3 separate regions of the Homo sapiens genome follow, and regions 2 and 3 are each linked to region 1. The links are contacts of gene promoters, found by promoter capture Hi-C in human tissues and cell types (Jung and others, 2019). All regions are on one chromosome and are shown on one strand. Each heading gives the region's core, a stretch centred on a gene start or on the middle of the fragment in contact. The rest is flanking DNA. Distances are from core to core; before and after follow the strand shown.

Region 1 (3,415 bases), core at 562-3,061:
TTACTCTGGATCACTTTCAAGGACTGTTGTCTAACCACTCATTAAAATCGTTCCTTTGTGCAACTGATTATCTAAAAGTACTGAGAGAATGCAGTACTTCTCTTTGAAAGATAACCGTCAGCAAAAGCTAAAATAATGTGATTTTGATTACAAACTGATGCAGCAGTCTGACCAGTAAAGTGTAGAATGCGTTGTCTTTGTAAACATTACTCACAAATCCATATTCAAGTTACAAACGATATATGTGTTTTTAAATTATGACCTCTGGTACCGCTCTACAAAAATGCAAAAATAACCTAAAAGGTTAGCATGCCTATTTCTTTAAAGTATGACCAGCTTAGCAAGGTGGCAAGTTTGTTTGAAAACACAAAACACAATCACCACCACCGCTCAATAATACACATACATAAACAGATTCGAAGCTGTGTTAAGCACAAAAATCCTTACCCCATTTTGCCCAATGAAAACTTGCTCTGAAGTTTCAGCTCTTATGCTACGGAATAACTTCCAAAGGAATTTCTCCGTCTGCTATTTCGCAGTTGCTTTTCCACCCCCACCCCCAGATCCTTGTCCGGAGGTATTTCAAGGATGCTGCCAATTCAATTAGTTCTCTTAGGTAAAATGATTTCTCTCTTGTAAATACCAAAACGTTCAAACAGAGGCGGCATTTGCTTATTCGAGTTAAAATGCTTTGCGGAGGAGACAGCGATCAACTCTATTCCACAAAATGAGTCTACAAGTAGGGAAATGCAGAATCCGGCTTCACCGAGTCCTATAAAAAATGAGTTCGCTGGTCATTTCACTCATGTCCTCCTCGACACTCAGGGAGAGCCAGGTAACTCGGCCTTTTCGGAGCTAAGGCTGCGGGTTCAAATTTCTCCACCACACCAGGTCTCCGGGGGTGGAGCGAGCAACCAAACGCGACGTGCACGTGAATAAAAATCCCAAAAGCAGTAATGCCACGGCTTCCCTGCGCTCACATTAGGAAAAAAACTACACAGGAAAATCTCCTCGAAGTGCAAACCCGGCAGCTCGCAACCTGCACGGCACTCCACATTGGAATCTGTCTTTTTAAATGTTTCTCCTCCTAAGACTCGGAGCAGAGAAGAGGTGGGGAGGACGAAGAGAAGGCTAGGCAGGATCGATTCATTCTCCCGAAGAGAATAAACGGAGCCATTTCCAGGCTGGCAGCAGGCTGGGGGCGCAGCGCACGCCGGAGAGCTGGAGGAGGGGACCCGATCCCACCTCCCTCAGCCCCTTCCCGCCCCCCGCCGCCGAGCACAATGGAGCCCGGCTGGTGCCCGGCCCTTCATTCGCGGCTGCCCCCTCTTCCCTCCTCTCTTCAGAGCACAGCGGGTCTGAGGCTCCCGTCGGCGGAGAATGAATGAATCACAGAGCCAAGCCCCACGCTTCCACTGGCACCCTGCCCCCAGCTCCAGGGCGGGCGAAAGGGGCCGAAGGGTCGACGGGCGCCTGCCCGAGCCAAGGCGGGAGGCTAAGCCCGCGTTGGGGCCAGGAGAGCTGGGCTCGAAGCCGAAGCGCAGCCGCCGCTCCAGCGCCCCCACCCCTACTCCTCGTCTCTCACGCTCCGCGCCGCCGCCACGCGCCGCCTCACATTCCCCGGGCCCCGCCGCCGCCTCTTCACACTTCCATCAGCGCCCGCCTCCGGCTACCGCCGGGCAGAGCAGCGCCAGCCCCGGCGGCCTGAAGCCTGCCGCTGCCTCCGCCTCCGCCGGCCGGCCGGCTGGCAGAGAAGAGGGTGCTGCTTTCCCGGTCAGCGCCGCCGGCGTGAAGCTAGCGCGGCGGCAGAGTGGGCTGCGGGGGGCGGGAAGGGGGCGGAGAGAACGGGGAGCGAGGGCGGTCCCTCCCTCTGCTCGCGGGAAGGGACGGGAGGCGGTGGCCGCCGCGGAGCCGCGGCCGGGGGCTGGGGCGCGGACTGGTCCCGGGAGCCCGACGGGCCTTGCGAGCAGCGGGCCGCGGGAGAAAGCAGCAGCCGCAAGGCGGCGGAGAGGCTGATGGTGGGGGGCCGAGCGGCCCTCGTGGGGAGCTGGGCCGGCGGCAGGCCCTCAGTCCGTTCGTCCTTCTTTTCCCCCCTCCCCTAGAGGCTGGCGGCTGGCTGGCCGTGCGCTCTGCTCCTCCTCTGGCTCTTGGCCCCGCTCCCGACCGCCACAGCCTCCTCCGCGCCCCACACCAGGTGCTCGCGCTGTGTCTCCATCCTCCCCGCAGGAGGACCTTTAAATAGCAACGTCAGCGCGCTTCTCTCCGCACACACGTCACCCGCAGCTCACGTCACCGAGGTGCGGGGGATGATGTCACGCGGCCGGAAGTACTGCTAAATTAGGGAAGGAGCAGGGGGAGGAGGACTCGGCGAGCTCCTGTGTGCCCACCTGCTCTCACTTCTCCTTAAAGGCCAAAGCACAGGAGACAGCCCGAGAGGAGCTCGAACAAGGAAGCGGCGGGAGGAGGAGATTTCCTTGCAACAAATGTGCCAAACCTGAGTGAATCATTCGTAGCAAAAGTGCAGTGTCAAGCGGGTAATAGCCTATCTCCCACTCCCACCGCTATTGCAGCAGCACCCCCGGGCTTCTCTTGTCCTGACTAGCAGGGAAATGTGGGAGGGAGAGCCTGATCACACTGCTGGTAGATGTGCTTCCAACAGGACTTCGGAAAAATCACCTAAATTTTCAATTATAGAGTGCCATTCTGGACATAGTCGACTTTTAAACTTTTTGTTAGTGGTTACCTGAAACACGAAAGAATAAAGAGCAGAGCAATAAGCAAACGAAATAATGTTATAAAGGATAGTAATTTTATTTGCAAAATAGCAGTTTTGACATAGGAAAATGAGTCAATCTTAGTTCACGTATAGCAAATGCCAGTGTGTCCTCTCAGTTTCTCTTCATCAAGAATATGAGTTCCATGACACTTGGCTCCAGCCAGTAAAACAAGAAAGAGAAAAAGTATATGGGTTTCAGTCTGTGGAATTTAAATTAAAATTTAAAAATTAAAAATAAGAAAGAGCACCAAATCCTTTTTCATTAACACAAGCATATTTTCGTCTTCTTTAGTTTTGACCACATAATATGTAATTACAATATCTCTTAAGTGTGTTTTGCATTTTCTGTATGGCAAGGGTGAGTAGCTGTCTATAGGTTTACTAGCTATGTGTGTCTATAAACACCATATTATGAGTGCTTTTTACATTGTAAATTACTACAGAGTTTTTAAATTATTTTAAAGTAATTAGGTTAAAACAATTTTTTAATTAGGTAAATCATATAGTGAACTTTGATTTTATTTTACTTAACTTGATAAGCATGGCCAAGAAATAGAATTGCTGCGTATTGCCAAAGGCCAATACTGTTTCAAGTTAGTCTACAAATTTAGTGACCCTGTTTTCCAGACCAAAATCTAG
Region 2 (3,415 bases), core at 350-2,849, 550 kb after region 1:
CCTCAATTGGAGAAACAACTGCATACATTTCACTGAACTGCATCTGGTTTTTATCTGTGAGGTAGAATTTTCCTCTTTCTGAAAGGGCAGGAAGTGGTCATGTTTTTTACATTAGTTGAAGTGGTTTAAAAAAAACAAAAAACAATCTCCAAGATTCCTAGAGCCTTGGAATAGCATGGACTTGACAGGACATGGAGGCAGGCACAGGCCCTGAGGGATTACATGGTAATGAAGAGGCACCGGCCCTGGCTTTGCCTTCTCGAGGTCTTTCTGATTGAGTAGTTGGTTTGCTGATGCTTTTGGAGGCATCTAACAGCCAGCTAAGTGGTCCAGGGACATAGTCCTTTCACAGAGATTTGCAAATTCCATGTCAGAATATCAGGGAGCTTATTACATTGAGAGGTAGGCTGGTTAATATCAAGGACCCTTTCAACATGCATGTGCCATTATTCTACAGCACAGCAAAGCCTACTAAAAAGCAACCTCAGATTGTGTGGTCAGGGATTCAGTGGGTAACTGGAGTTGGAAGCCTTTATTTCCTTTTATTATTTTTTCCACCAAAAGATAGTTAAATGACTAAACAAGTATGTGCAAATAGATGAAGAAAAGTTTGAGAGTGTTTTCTCGGTGTGGCTAAAGACTTTGAACTTTTTTGTCTCCAGTGCAAATACCATCCCTGCTACCCGGGCGTGCACTGCATAAATTTGTCTCCTGGCTTCAGATGTGACGCCTGCCCAGTGGGCTTCACAGGGCCCATGGTGCAGGGTGTTGGGATCAGTTTTGCCAAGTCAAACAAGCAGGTAGGCTGAAGTCATGGTTTCTATTCATTTCTCATCTTAACAAAACAACTGTGGTTGGTTCCCACCTCTTTGGTATAAACCTTTACCTCCATGAGCAGTCAAGGCCATGTGGAATGTCATGGTGCAAAATGAGCAAATTAGGAAGTTTTTCAACCATTTCTGAGTATTTACATTTATAAAATCTAGAAGGGAGGAAGCTTTTAAGAGGGGATAATAGAGTATCACTAGAAAAACAGTAAATGGGGTAATATGGCTATTGGCATAATTTCAGTCTTATTTTGTTGATAGCTGTTGAGCATTTTGTCCTGCAGAATAAGTTGAGAACCACGGAGACAAAAGCTTTGAAAAATTAGGTCACTTTTGTAGAGTCATTGTTGCCAATCGAAGCTGTTTCAGAGATGAGGGGATTTTAAGAGTAGAAATAATCCCCCAAGGCAACCTCCCCTTTTTCTTATGTAAGCTATAAATTGCCATAAAGCACTTGAGTACTTCTTGACAGTCTCCATTTATTTCCCAATGCTCTACTATATTCTGGTCATTATTTAACTGACTGACTGTGAAATTCTTTTTGATGTTTTTAGCCCTTAAAAATGGTTGTTCTATAAATATATTTTACTACCTTAGGGAAATTATTAGCTTTGAAGAAGGGCAGGGGTTTATTATTTCCTAGCTGCCTATCAAAGGGTTCTAGAGGGCATGATTTTTTTAAGTTATTGTTATACTTTAAGTTCTAGGGTACATATGCACAACGTGCAGGTTTGTTACATATGTATACATGTGCCATACTGGTGTGCTGCACCTGTTAACTTGTCATTTACATTAGGTATATCTCCTAATGCTATCCTTCCCCCCTCCCCCTACCCCATGACAGGCCCTGGTGTGTGACATTCCCCACCCTGTGTCCAAGTGTTCTCATTGTTCAATTCCCAACTAAGAGTGAGAACATGCGGTGTTTGGTTTTCTATCCTTGCGATAGTTTGCTCAGAATGATGGTTTCTAGCTTCATCCATGTCCCTACAAAGGACATGAACTCATCCTTTTTTATGGCTGCATAATATTCCATGGTGTATATGTGCCACATTTTCTTAATCCAGTCTATCATTGATGGACATTTGGGTTGGTTCCAAGTCTTTGCTATTGTGAATAGTGCCACAATAAATATACGTGTCCATGTGTCTTTATAGCAGCATGATTTATAAGCCTTTGGGTATATGCCCAGTAATGGGATGGCTGGGTCAAATCGTATTTCTAGTTCTAGATCCTTGAGGAATCGCCACACTGTCTTCCACAATGGCTGAACTAGTTTACAGTCCCACCAACAGTGTAAAAGTGTTCCTATTTCTCCACATTCTCTTCAGCACCTATTGTTTCCTGACTTTTTAATGATCGCCATTCTAACTGGTGTGAGAAGGCATCTCATTGTGGTTTTGATTTGCATTTCTCTGATGGCCAGTAATGGTGAGCATTTTTTCATGTGTCTGTTGGCTGCATAACTGTCTTGAGAAGTGTCTGTTCATATCCTTTGCCCACTTTTTGATGGGGTTGTTTGATTTTTTTCCTATAAATTTGTTTAAGTTAAGTTCTTTGTAGATTCTGGATATTAGCCCTTTGTCAGATGGATAGATTGTAAAAATGTTCTCCCATTCTGTAGGTTGCCTGTTCACTCTGATGGTAGTTTCTTTTGCTGTGCAGAAGCTCTTGAGTTTAATTAGATCCCATTTGTCAATTTTGGCTTTTGTTGCCATTGCTTTAGGTGTTTTAATCATGAAGTCCTTGGAGGGCATGATTTTTTAGACTAGAAAAGGGAGGCCAGCTAGACATATAGGAATGATAAGAAGCTGTTAAGAGTCCTCTAAAGACAAAATCTCTAAGAACAAACCAAGGAAACATAAGGTACTTGGTGTAAGGTAGTAAGGAGCACTTCTCAATAGATTTCCAGTAACAAGGCAGACAGAACTGAAGTGGAAGGGAGCCACCTTGCTAAATTTAACAGCAAATGTTACTGCATTCCAAAGTCAAAGAAAATAAAAGGAAATGGCGCAGTGTCCAGAAACAAAGAGAAAACTCAAAGCCAGAACTGTGACTAGAGCTGATGCCACAGCAGATCCTGGGAGGTGGGAGTTGGGTCCAGGTCTTAGTAACAGGGACCTGGCTTTTACCACCTGTGTGGAGTGGATGCAGCAATGTAGTCTGGGAACTTTGGAAAGGCCTAACACCCCTGCATAAGTCCAGGACCCTCAGAGAACCACCTTATCAATTACAAGGAGACAGGAAACCTTTAGTAGCCCTAAGAAACAACAAAGAAGCTCTTTAGCTTTAATACATGGTTGACAAAAATGAAAATTGCCTACAGCAAATCAAAGCACCACACTTGTACCACATACAGTTATGAGTTCCAAATCTGTTATACATATAATGCAGAAACACAAGCCAAAAAATTAAAATAATAACCAGCCATGAAGAAGTGAAATCCCCAGGGCTCTGACTCAAGTCAAAGGCACACCACTCTGTAAAGACATGCCAAAATTCAGGGCCAATGGAATGCCCACAGGCAAAATTTGGGCTACTGAAGATATGCTTATAAACAAAAATGGCAGTTTATATAAAGAAACTCC
Region 3 (3,415 bases), core at 443-2,942, 530 kb after region 1:
AAGCACCTACCTGGCCGTGATGGAAAGAATATACCTCAACCAGTAGAACAGGATGAATAGGGCTCTTTTCTCCCTGTGCGTGCCAATTTACACAGGCCTGTCACTGGTTTGATCCCTCTGCTGTCATTTGTTTTGTTGCCGTAGTGAGTTACTATAAGCACTGAGAAGTGAGTCCCAAAGAAAATGGTCACTATTTTTCATTGCCTTCTCCTCCACTCCTTCCCCGGGGGACAACACCTGTTCCTGTTTATTAAGGAATGTGACAGATGCGTGTTCCTGCTGCTTCATGCATTTAATAAAATAGGAGGGCTGGTTCTTCTGGCTGGGTTTTATGTTTATTTCAGTTTGCTTTACAAAGTGGACACTTCCTAGTGCTTCAAACTCTCTCTTAGATTATATTTGTGATTGTACACTTAAATCTGCAGGCATTAGGAAATGAAAGAAGTTTCTAATTCTTAACTTTCATAGGACTCTAAAGTTAAAAGTATAAATGAATGGGACTTTAACCCCTTCTTTTCTGTCAGATTCCAACATGCTTCTTGCCTGCTTCCACGCTACTCCCAAGTCTGCTTTCTCTGTATGTGCCTCATAGCCTGTCAGGGGCCTTGAGGAGGTGTCAGATAATAAAGTGAGTCTGAGGACATGGCCAGCAGATGGGTCAACCGTTCCTGTCCCCCTTTCCCCATCTTCAGCCCTAATGAGGGGGGATTCTGCCCATGTCTCTGCCTTGAATCAAACAGCCCCATTTTGCCTAGCATCTGCTGAAGGAACTGCTCATCTTCTGACAACCCAGCTACTCAGTTTGTGATCGTAAAAATCACCGTTCTTCATCTGTGGATCAGCAGCTTCTCCTAACCTGTCTATTTCAGAGGCATTGCAAAGATTTTTCTTTCGGTTCATCCAGCTTAATGGCCAGAAGTTCCTCTGCAGAGTAAAAAACTGCTCCAAGCTTTTGCCCTCACTGCCTCTCACCCTCTATTTCTAAATTGGCCAGTATGTGTGAGCCCATTGTGGAAAGTCTGTTGCTGGGAAACACAAGGAAGCAACTTCCCCTGAACGGATCCTTTCAGTTTGTATAGACAAGAGTAACACTGGATTTAATGGGCAGTAGGTAGAGGGTAAGGGGATCGTTAGTATGTTTCCTCTGAAGAATCACCAGTAATATGAGTCAGCTGTAAATACCAGTTGATCAAATATTTTAGGGGCTGTAATCCCAGCACTTTGGGAGGCTGAGGCAGGCAGATCACCTGAGGTCAGGAGTTCGAGAACAGCATGGCCAACATGGAGAAACCCCATCTCTACTAAAAATACAAAAATTAGCCAGGCATGGCAGTATGTGCCTATAGTCACAGCTACTCGGGAGGCTGAGGCAGGAGAATCACTTGAACCCAGGAGGCAGAGGTTGCAGTGAGCTGAGATTGTGCCGCTGCACTCCACACTTCAGCCTGGGTGACAGAGCGAGACTCTGTCTCAAAAGAAAAAAAAAATTAGAGGAAAAGATGAAAGGGTTGAGATGAAGAACTGAAAGATGAACATCTCCCTACCCTCCAACCTATTAGGAAAGATAAATTGTTCTTAGAAACTGTGGGGGCAGAAGGAGTCCTGGAAGAATCTAGAAATGAGAATTCTCATAAGGCAAAGAGGGATTTATGCTGTTATTAGAGCTTGAAGAGTTGAAGAATGACACAGAGAAGTTGTTTCACTGGAGCAGTCGGAAAAAATACGAAGATTTGCCAGCACTGGTGAATATAAAAGTTTCAGGAAAGAGAAGTCCATTCTGACTGGAACAATAAAAAGAAGTCACTGGGTCCATCAGATCCAAGGAAAAGACAGAGCCTGTGGTTGAGACTCCCCACTGCAGTGTTCAGTGGTGGCCATGCTGACTTGACATAATTCTCCCCACAACCCTCCACAAATTATCTACCTGGACATGGTAGGCTCCAGACAGCATTCATCTGGCCAAGGTTCAGCTGATCTCCTCTTTTGCTGATTTGCGTGGAAAACGGTGAAACAGAAGAAATCCAAGTGGATCTCTACTGACTTAAAACACCTGAGTAGGAAATAAAACACACCCTTCCCTCCATTAAAGTCCAGGACTGGGAGATGAAGGAGGGTGACTACACAGCATCAAAGAGCAGAATTTGGTCATCTGGGCCTCATATGACCTCCTGAAACAAATTAAAATGTAGCTAATGAAGACTGCAAAGAAAGAGTTTGCCACTGAGCTCTCTGCTTCTACTCTCACCCTCTCCAAGTCAGCCTACCCCAGGCCACCTCATTACTGTTCACAAACATAATTTGGATCAAGATACATCTGACCTCTGAGACCTCTAGTGGCCCCCTTTCCAAATTGAATAATGTACCCATGTCTCAGCAAGGCATTCGGGGCTTCCACTCTGCATGGCCCCAAGCAGCCTTTCCAGTTTATCCCTCATTCCAGCCTCCATGCAGCCTGAGCTTCACCAAGATAGGCTATTGCCATTCCTTGGGGCCGCACATGCTGCCTCTCCTCCATCCTTTTGTTCCTGCTGTCTGCTCCCTCGACACATATCCTGCATCACCTCTTGACACCCAAATCCTACACATTCAAGACCCATCTCCAGCTCCTTCTGATATTCTTTCTAATATGACTTTGTACCTCTTAAGGAAGACATTCATCTTAGCTCACCTTGTACTTGAATTACTTCTAGGTCTTCTCTCCATTTGGTTGGGAGCTCTCTTGAGACAGGGACTATACAGCCCTTATCTTTGCATCTGCTGCAGCACCTAGCAAGGTGCCTTGTACATAGAAGTAGTTCATGGATAGATTGAAAAGAATAAATGGAGGCTGAGAAGAGTAGACTTGTTTGTGAAAAATGACATACACCATTGTGAAATTCTGGGATTCCACAATATCTGACACATAGTAGGTAATAAAAAAAAAATTATTTATTTATTTATGAGACAGAGTCTTACTCTGTCACCCAGGCTGGAGTGCAGTCGCTAGATATCGGCTCACTGCAGCCTCTGCCTCCTAGGTTCGACTGACTCTCCTGCCTCAGCCTCCCGAGTAGCTGGAACTACATGTGCGCACCACTACGCCCAGCTAATTTTTCTATTTTTTTAGTAGAGATGGGGTTTTGCCATATTGGCCAGGCTGGTCTCGAACTCCTGGCCTCAAGTGATCCTCCTGTCTCGGCCTCCTAAATTGCTGGGCTTACAGGTCTGAGCCACCACACTCAGCCAAAAAAAGATTTTTTTTTTTAATGAATAAATATTGAAGGGCTTTTGGAATAGGATGTAAGAGGATACAGGTAGTATTTCTGGTAGAAGTGATCTGCCAGGTTATGAGTAATACAGCCTTTAAATCTTGATAGAAATAAGCATCCTGCAGAAACCACCTGGCTGGATAGAAGATATGGCTGATGCTCTTCTA

Evidence for each region. The method cuts DNA at HindIII sites, captures the fragments that hold promoters and counts their contacts. A contact is called where the count stands out against the background at its distance.
Region 2: a fragment that was not itself captured here is called in contact with the fragment with the promoter of HOMER1 in region 1 in 1 of the 25 tissues and cell types used here (IMR-90 fibroblasts).
Region 3: a fragment that was not itself captured here is called in contact with the fragment with the promoter of HOMER1 in region 1 in 1 of the 25 tissues and cell types used here (dorsolateral prefrontal cortex).

Annotation. Positions count from the first base shown.
Region 1 is chr5:79,512,323-79,515,737 of GRCh38, forward strand. HOMER1 (homer scaffold protein 1) reads right to left here and starts at 1,812. Exons shown (of 9, transcript NM_004272.5): 1 at 448-1,812. The coding sequence starts at 452. RefSeq lists a silencer at 1,385-2,094 and enhancers at 2,089-2,636, 2,345-2,534. The HindIII fragment of the contact is 12,079 bases long and covers 1-3,415 here.
Region 2 is chr5:80,061,033-80,064,447 of GRCh38, forward strand. THBS4 (thrombospondin 4) reads left to right here. Exons shown (of 22, transcript NM_003248.6): 8 at 663-800. Among named protein-coding and RNA genes, the nearest start is that of THBS4-AS1, 21 kb to the right of the region's middle. The HindIII fragment of the contact is 6,774 bases long and covers 1-3,415 here.
Region 3 is chr5:80,041,501-80,044,915 of GRCh38, forward strand. All of the region lies in intron 2 of THBS4 (thrombospondin 4), which reads left to right. Among named protein-coding and RNA genes, the nearest start is that of THBS4, 7.9 kb to the left of the region's middle. The HindIII fragment of the contact is 6,867 bases long and covers 1-3,415 here.